Regions from separate parts of the Homo sapiens genome. Here all the other regions are linked to region 3. Evidence: promoter capture Hi-C in human tissues and cell types (Jung and others, 2019). All regions are on one chromosome and are shown on one strand. Each heading gives the region's core, a stretch centred on a gene start or on the middle of the fragment in contact. The rest is flanking DNA. Distances are from core to core; before and after follow the strand shown. Region 1 overlaps MAP3K12 (mitogen-activated protein kinase kinase kinase 12). Region 2 has its middle 20 kb from the start of SP1. Region 3 holds the start of SOAT2 (sterol O-acyltransferase 2).

Region 1 (2,700 bases), core at 104-2,603, 390 kb before region 3:
CTGCATTGCCACTGTGGGACATAGGTACCACTGTCCCCGTTTAGCAATGAAGAAACTGAGGTTTGTTGAAAAGTCTCAGGCCAGGTCACCCAACTGGCCAGGAGCAGAGACAAGACCTCAGGAAGCCACTCTGATTTTGAGGCCTGTGTTCTCTCCTCTACCACCTACCCTCTCCCTATTGCACAACTGTCCTAATAAGCTAAGTGAAGGAATGCATGAGCAGTCCATCAATCTTATTTTCTCTTTTACAATTTAAATTTTATGTCTTACTTTAAAAGCAATTCAAAGTTGTTACTGAAATACTAGGAATATACGTAAACCCAAAGGAGAAAATTAAAACACTCACAATTCCACCTACCTAGAAACTGTTGTTATACTTTGGTATTTATTCTTCCAGATTTTTAAAAATGCCCATCCCGTTGAGGAACTATATTTGTTAACATCCGCTGAACTTCTTCCTGGTCTATCTGAGGTCCTAGGTAGGAGGGACTCCTGAGGCCCATCCTACCCTGCTCTTGCCCTCCCCTTCCCCGAGGCCTCCATGGGTAAGGCTGAGGGGTGATCCAGGGCCACGTGATCAAAGGGAGGATCTTAGCAGTACAGCTGCTTAAGAGAGCAGATTCCAGAGACAACTGGCCAGGGAGTGAGGATGGGGTGCAGAAAATCAGGCCATCCCCCTTAGTCCAGAGGAGACAGAATGGCAGGATTTACAGAGGAGGGACTGGTGATCTGGTAGAGGAATGACTGGGGACTCCAGCACAATCACTAGCACTGTGACCTGGTTCTACTGGAACCTGAAATCACAGTTTATCCTGGGAAAGCAGAAGGTCAGAGACCAAGTCTTCAGCCTCTCCAGGATCCACAAAGACCTGGTGTCCAGCCAACCAGGAAGACAAAGCAAGGAGGAAACATGCTGCTCCCTGCACCCCCTCTATCACCCTACTTAACCTTCACTACCCCCAGCAGGGTGGGTTGGGCACCACAGAGAGATTACATTCCTTAAACTAAGTGGTGGCAAAACTGGGATTCTAGCTCTGATCTCTCCAAATCTGAAGCTGATTCTTTTTTCCTAAATAGTACTGTCCCTCCCTTCCCTGAACCCCTTCACTGCCCACCCCACTGGAAGTGTGGCAGCTAGGGGTCTCAGGGCTTGATTTACCAATCAAAGACCCGAATTTAGGGGTGATCTCCAGTTTTCCCCCAAGTTCTCAGGGGAACTCATTTCTCCCTCATGAGGGCACTAAGAAAAGCAATAGTTCTTTTCCTCTTGGGATCCTGGGGCCAGGACTGCGGATCCTGAAAAATGGAAAATAAAAACAAGCTGCAGGGCACAGTGGTTCACACCTGTAATGCCAGCATTTTGGGAGACCTAGACTGGTGGATCATTTGAGCCCAGGAGTTTGGAACCAGCCTGGGCAACAGAATGAGACATGGTCTCTACAATTTTTTTTTTTTTTTTTTTTTTTTTTTGAGATGGAGTCTCGCTCTGTTGCCCAGGCTAGAGTGCAGTGGCGGCGGACTACAGGTGCGCCCACCACTACGCCTGGCAAATTTTTTGTATTTTTGGTAGAAACGGGGTTTCACCATGTTAGCCAGGATGGTCTCCATTGCTGGGATTACAGGCGTGAGCAACTGCGCCTGGCCTTTTTTTTTTTTTTTTTTTTTTTTTTTTGGAGACAGAGTATTGCTCTGTCGCCTAGGCTGGAGTGCAGTGGCTCCATCTCGGCTCACTGCAGGCTCCGCCCCCTGGGTTCACGCCATTCTCCTGCCTCAGCCTCCCGAGTAGCTGGGACTACAGGCGTCCGCCACCACGCCCAGCTAATTTTTTGTATTTTTAGTAGAGACGGGGTTTCCCCATGGTAGCCAGGATGGTCTCCATCTCCTGACCTCATGATCCGCCCGCCTGGGCCTCCCAAAGTGCTGGGACTACAGACGTGAGCCACTGTGCTCGGCCTTTTTTTAATTTAGTCTGGTGTGGTGGTGAGTGCCTGTAGTCCCAGCTACTCAGGAGGCTGAAGGGGGAGGATCACTTGAGCCCAGGAGGTTGAGGCTGCAGGCAGTGAGCCGTGATCATCCCACTGCACTCCAGCCTGGGCAACAAAGCGAGACCCTGTTTCAAAAACAATACGAGCTGCAGCCAAGGGGACAGGAGGCATGGCCACGATTGATCAGAGACCTTTATCCTCTCAGGGTTTCAAAGCTTGCAGAGGTGGAATTAGGACTCCAAAGTCTTGGGTCTCCTTTCCCTTTGAAGACTCCCCTTCCTACCCCCACTCACGAGAGAAAGGGAATCATTCTCCTTTTCCTGAGTAAAAAAATGAGGTCTCAGACAGTGGAGAGCACTCAGTGTGAGAGCCCAAGATTTAGGCAGATGACCTGGCCTCTGAACTGAGCCCCTAAGACCACCAAACAGCTTAGCATTGACATTCTGCTGTTATACAAGAAGGAGCTAGAGAGAATTCAGAGAGTTTACCTGCCACAGGCTTCCAAAATCTCAGGCCAGAGAACCTAGAAGGTGGGATAGATGGGGGGTGACTTCCTACCCCACTCTACCCTGTAGCCTCCTTATGGAGTCACTTTGGGGCCACCAGCAAAGCACTGAATTAGGGCCTGTTGGGTGTCCAAAGAGCCTCCTCCCCTGGCACATGTATGGCTTAGAGATCATTCTGTCCCCTCACCCAATGTGAGGCAGAAGCACCA
Region 2 (2,700 bases), core at 120-2,619, 260 kb before region 3:
CTGGTCTCAAACTCCTGACCTTGTGATCTGCCTGGACGGCCTCCCAAAGTGCTGGGATTATAGGCATGAGCCCCCGTGCCCAACAAATTCTTTTCTTTTTTTTTTTCTTTTTGAAACAGAGTCTTGCTCTGTCACCAGGTTGGAATGTAGTGGCATGATCTTGGCTCACTGCAATCTCCACCTCCCGGGTTCAAGCAATTCTCCTGCCTCAGCCTCCCAAGTAGCTGGGATTACAGGCGTGCACCACCATGCCCAGCTAATTTTTGTATTTTTAGGAGAGACGGGGTTTCACCATGTTGGCCAGGATGATCTTGATCTCTTGACCTCATGATCCGCCCGCCTCGACCTCCCAAAGTGCTGGGATTACAGGCGTGAATTTCAGTTATTTCTGTGACAGGGTCTCACTCTGTCGCCCAGGCTGGAGTGCAGTGGCTCAATCATCGGTATTTTTTGTAGAGAAGAGGTTTTGCCATGTTACCAGGCTGGTCTTGAACTCCTGGGCTCAATCATTCCACCTGCCTTGGCCTTCCAAAGTGCTATGCTTACAAACATGAGCCACTGAGCCCGGCCATATTTTTATTTTTATTAAAAAGAAATTTTTTTTTTTAACTGGGCATGGTGCTGCACACCTGAAGTCCCAAGCCACTCCAGAGGCTGATGTGGGAGGGTCGCTTGAATTTGGGAGACAGAGGTTGCAGTGAGCCCAGATTGTACCACTGTACTTTAGCATGGGCGACAGGGCTTTTGTCTTAAAACAGAAACAAAACAAAAAATAAATAAAAACAAAAACAAACAAAAATAAATAATTTGTTTGTTTTTGTTTTTGAGATACGGTCTCACTGTCACCCAGCCTGGAGTGCAGTCACGGGATCTCAGCTCATTGCAGCCTCCACCTCCTGGGCTCAAGCAATCCTCTTGCCTCAGCCTCCCAAGTAGCTGGGACCATGGGTGCCTGTCACCATACCAGGCTAATTTTTTTTTTTTTGTAGAGAAAAGGTCCCACTATGTTTTCCAGGCTGGTTTTGAACTCCTGGGCTGAAGGGATCCTCCTGCCTTGGCCTCCCAACGTGCTGGGATTATAGGCATAAGCCACCTTGCCCAACCTTAAAATAAATTTTTGAGACAGGGTCTTAGGTGTCATCCAGGCTGGAATGCAGTGGTACAGTCATGGTTCACTGCAGCCTCCACCTCCTGGGCTCAAGTGATCTTTCTCTCTCAACTTCCTAAGTAGCTGGGACTACAGGCGCAGACTACCACACCCAGCTAATTTTTAAAATTTTTTCTAGAGATGGAGTCCCAATACGTTGCCCAAGCTGGACTCAAACTCCTGGACTCATGATATTTCTGCCTTGGCCTCCCAAAGTGCTGAGATTACAGACATGAGCCACTGCGAGTGCCCAGCCAACTGTTTTTATTTTTTGTAGAGACAGGGTCTGTGCTCAGCCTACATTTTTTTTTTTGAGATGGAGTTTCACTCTTGTTGCCCAGGCTGGAGTGCAATGGTGCAATCTCGGCTCAGCAACCTCTGCCTCACAGGTTCAAGTGATTCTCCTGCCTCAGCCTCCCGAGCATCTGGGATTAGAGGCATGTGCCACCATGCCCGTCTAATTTTATATTTTTTAGTAGAGACAGGGTTTCTCCATGTTGGTCAGGCTGGTCTTGAACTACCAACCTCAAGTGATCAACCGACCTCGGCCTCCCAAAATGCTGGAATTACAGGCGTGAGCCACCGCGCCTGGCTCAGGCTATATTTTTGTATTGCATTGTTTGACTTAAAGAAGCTTGTTATGTGTATTAGATATTAATTATTTGTTTAAAATATGACAAATATTTTCTCCCTATGGATTGTCTTTTTTTAAATTCTACACACGCTGCAGGTGTTGTTGTTGTTTTGTTTTGTTTTTTGACAGGAGTTTTGTTCTTGTTGCCTGCCACCACGCTCAGCTAATTTTTTTTTTTTTTTAATTGAGATGGAGTCCAGGATGGTCTCAATCTCTTTACATCATGATCCACCCGCCTCGGCCTACCAAAGTGCTGGGATTATAGGCATGAGCCACTGTGCCTGGCCCCTAGATTTATTTTTTTCTAGAGTTTTACAGAATGGAGGCTGAAGCAACTCCATCTTGGATGTTAATCTGCTATGTTGACTTCTGAATAACCCCAGCTCCAGGAATGCCTCTAAAATTTTTATTTTATCTACTGATCTTTGGGTAAGAGCATATACTTATCATAAATCCTGCCCTTAGGTCAAGACCACCTTGACCATGAATCTTGCCCTTAGGCAGATTCACAGAACATTCTTGCCTTTCCCATAGAGGTCGACTTCAATTGTCCTACACATTCCTTCCCTATGGTATATAAATTCTGGATCTGGAGATTAATGGCACAGGGATACACTGTCTTGTCTCACCACTGCCAGAGATACAAACAGGGCTTCTGTTTGTAAGTCCCTGTTAAATGTTTCTTTCTTTTTTTGAGACGGTCTTGCTCTGTCGCCCAGGCTGGAGTGCAGTGGTGCAATCATGATTCACTGCAGCCTCAACCTCCCAGACTCAAGTGATCTTCCTGCCTCAGCCTCCCCAGTAGCTGGGACCATAGGCAGGTGACACCACACACAGCTAATTTTTTTTTTTTTTTGACGGAGTTTCGCTCTTGTTGCCCAGGCTGGAGTGCAGTGGCATGATCTTGGCTCACCGCAAC
Region 3 (2,700 bases), core at 197-2,696:
GGCAGGCATTGGTGGGGTGGTGATGGGTCTGCTGGTGGGGTAGGACCCCGCAGTGCTAAGTGCTGTGGTAAAAAGATGAACAAGCCATGATCCCTGCCCAGAGTTGATCTCCTTCTGGCTTCCTGGGGCAGCAGCGAGGATCAGGGAGTGACAGCAGGAGCAAGGCTTCCCCTCCCTGGGTCTGAATTCCAGCCTGGTCACCTCCGATTGTCACTCCTCACCCCTGGCCTCCAGCCGCACTAGCAGGAAGACTCTATCTACTGGCTGACTTTTGGTGACCTTTGGGACCTGTGCTTCAAACCCCTCCATCTCCATCCTTAATTCGAATCCGATCTTTGCACTCAGGAACAAGTCATCAGGCTGGGCACCGTGGCTCACACCTGTAATCCCAGCACTTTGGGAGGCCGAGGCGGGTAGATCACTTGAGGTCAGGAGTTCAAGACCAGCCTGGCCAATATGGTGAAACCCCGTCTCTACTAAAAATATAAAAAAAAAATTAGCCACACCTGGTGGCACTCATCTGTAGTTCAGCTACTCGCTTGAACCTGGGAGGCAGAGGTTGCAGTGAGCCGAGATTGTGCCAATGCACTCCAGCCTGAGCAACAGAGCGAGACTTTGTTTCAAAAAAAAAAAAAAAAAAAAGTCATCTTTATCACCAAGCCTCACTCCTGCTTCCTGCTACCAAGGATCTGTCCACTTGACCTCTGACCTCTGACATCCCTCACCTCCATGTGTCGGGTCCATTGTACCAAGTCCGGGGCTCTGTGCGTCTCAGTGTTTCCTGTGAGGAGGGATCAAAGGCACAGTCAACAGGAGGAATTGGGGTTCTGCAGACCCAGAGGCATCCTGTGGTCAGGAAATGCTTTGTGTGCTCAGCAGCTGCCCTCACCCCAACCAGCCAATATCTAGTATCATGGTTGGGGCTACTAGAAGGGGAAGTTGCTGTTGCCAGTGGTGAGGAGGCCATAGGCAAGCAGGGGGCCTGGTGACATTACTGGGAACAGGGCACTCAGGGAATGGGAAGCTACTCCATTCACTATCTGGGGCTAAACAGTCAGAAGGATAAGGCCAGGCCACAGCTCTGACATAGCTCTTTTCTGTTCCATCTTCCAGCTGGGTGGCTCTGGGCTGAGGCCAGGGTCTACCTTCCTTGGCCTCTCTGGACAGCAGGAAGGATTGGCATCAGGCAGTTGGAGCCTTCTCTCCATAGCGCATCTCTCCCCGCCTCCCCCCCACTTGCCTGTGCCTTCTGCACCCCCGAGGGCGGCTCACCATCTCCACAGGGTTGGCGCTCCCGCTCCCCTCCCAGCCCTTCTGTCCTCTGCAGACGCAGACGGGCCCCGCCTGGCTCCATGGTGCGGTCTCCAGCGGGCAGCAGGCAGCCCTTGCCCGTGTTGCCTCCTTCCTTCGCAGTGTGGCCTGCCCTGTAGAGCTCTTGTCCCACTCAGCTCAGGTGACAGCTCCAAAGACTAAAGTCCTTTCAGGAGGAGGGGGCCTCTGGGAGTGCGATAGGTTATCTGATCTGGAGGCAGAGCTTCTCAGATTCAGACCTCACTCTGCTGTCTGTCGCAGGGATCGCCACATCCCCCTAACACCCCAACCACCATCCAGATGCCCAGCTCCAAGGGTGCTATCCACCCCGCCACACACACACAGGAATAGTGGCTGGGTACATCTTGGGGAGGGGAACTTTGCCTCTCAGAAGCTTGTCACCTAGCATGGCTGGCCTTCCAGTCTCTCTCCCAGCAGGCTGAAGGTCAGGGAGGAGTCAGAAATGTCTTCATGTATCAGTGCGTTCAGCTCGCTTTCACCACAAGGTGTGTGATTGACACATGTGGTAATATTCTGATGGGGTTGGCACTGTGCTACTCACGGAACTGGGGCCCCTCCAGGAAAGGCTGAGTGTCAGGGCCCCTGAACTGACAGGGCCGCTTCCTGACACCTGCTTGGGTGAGCATGTAGGCAGAAAGGAGACTAAACAAACACGTATTCAGCACCTAGGGAATACCAGGTATTGTCACATATGGAAGAACCGGATGCAAACCTCCCTCTGTCATTTACCAGCTATATAATTTCAGGCAAGTGACCCCAAATTTTAAGCCAGTTTCCTCCTCTGAAAAATAGGGGTAAAAATCCCTATATCACAAGGTTATCGTAAGCTCAAAATGAGGTTGTCCAGGTAAAATCACATGGTTCAGGGCCATGGGATGAGCTCATATATTAGTAATAATTTCCTTCTTTTTTTAGTAGGAAGTAACAGAAGGGTATGTGCTTTGAGAGTTCCTCTTTGCTGGGTTCCTGCTGGGATTAACTATTAATCCTTCCCCTCCCTTTGTGTCCAAAGATCAGTGTTAGAAACAAGGTCACAACTTCAGATTAAGGCCATGATCTCAGTGTCTCCCCTTCCCACTCCCAACTCCTGGTGGGCAGCTCTGTGAGGCTTGATGGCTTGAAGCTTCTGCCTGGCTGTCACAGGAAGGACTAAAGGTATCCACAGGAAAGGAGAAATGCTGTGAGTGAGCTGTAGTGGGGTAAAGAGAGGGCCAGGGATTCCAGAATTGTGAGAGGCAGACACAGAGACACAAGCCAGCGACCCCAAGCACAGCTTTATTGACACCCCAGCCAACACCAACACTCTTTCCAACCAGCGGTGAGGGGCCCATGGGGCGGGGCCTGAAGGTGGATTGAGGGCCTCGGTTT

The links. Contacts are between HindIII fragments. The study calls those that stand out against the background at their distance.
Region 1: a contact is called between a fragment that was not itself captured here and the fragment with the promoter of SOAT2 in region 3, in 1 of the 25 tissues and cell types used here (stomach).
Region 2: a contact is called between a fragment that was not itself captured here and the fragment with the promoter of SOAT2 in region 3, in 2 of the 25 tissues and cell types used here (bladder and neural progenitor cells).

The regions. Positions count from the first base shown.
Region 1 is chr12:53,494,312-53,497,011 of GRCh38, reverse strand. All of the region lies in intron 1 of MAP3K12 (mitogen-activated protein kinase kinase kinase 12), which reads left to right. Among named protein-coding and RNA genes, the nearest start is that of MAP3K12, 3.8 kb to the left of the region's middle. RefSeq lists a silencer at 413-707. The HindIII fragment of the contact is 4,391 bases long and covers 1-2,700 here.
Region 2 is chr12:53,358,619-53,361,318 of GRCh38, reverse strand. No RefSeq gene overlaps it. Among named protein-coding and RNA genes, the nearest start is that of SP1, 20 kb to the left of the region's middle. The HindIII fragment of the contact is 4,324 bases long and covers 1-2,700 here.
Region 3 is chr12:53,102,232-53,104,931 of GRCh38, reverse strand. It overlaps SOAT2 (sterol O-acyltransferase 2), which reads right to left and starts at 1,446. Exons shown (of 15, transcript NM_003578.4): 1 at 1,273-1,446; 2 at 726-781. The coding sequence starts at 1,354. IGFBP6 (insulin like growth factor binding protein 6) reads right to left here. Exons shown (of 4, transcript NM_002178.3): 4 at 2,592-2,700. RefSeq lists an enhancer at 1,336-1,864. The HindIII fragment of the contact is 25,360 bases long and covers 1-2,080 here.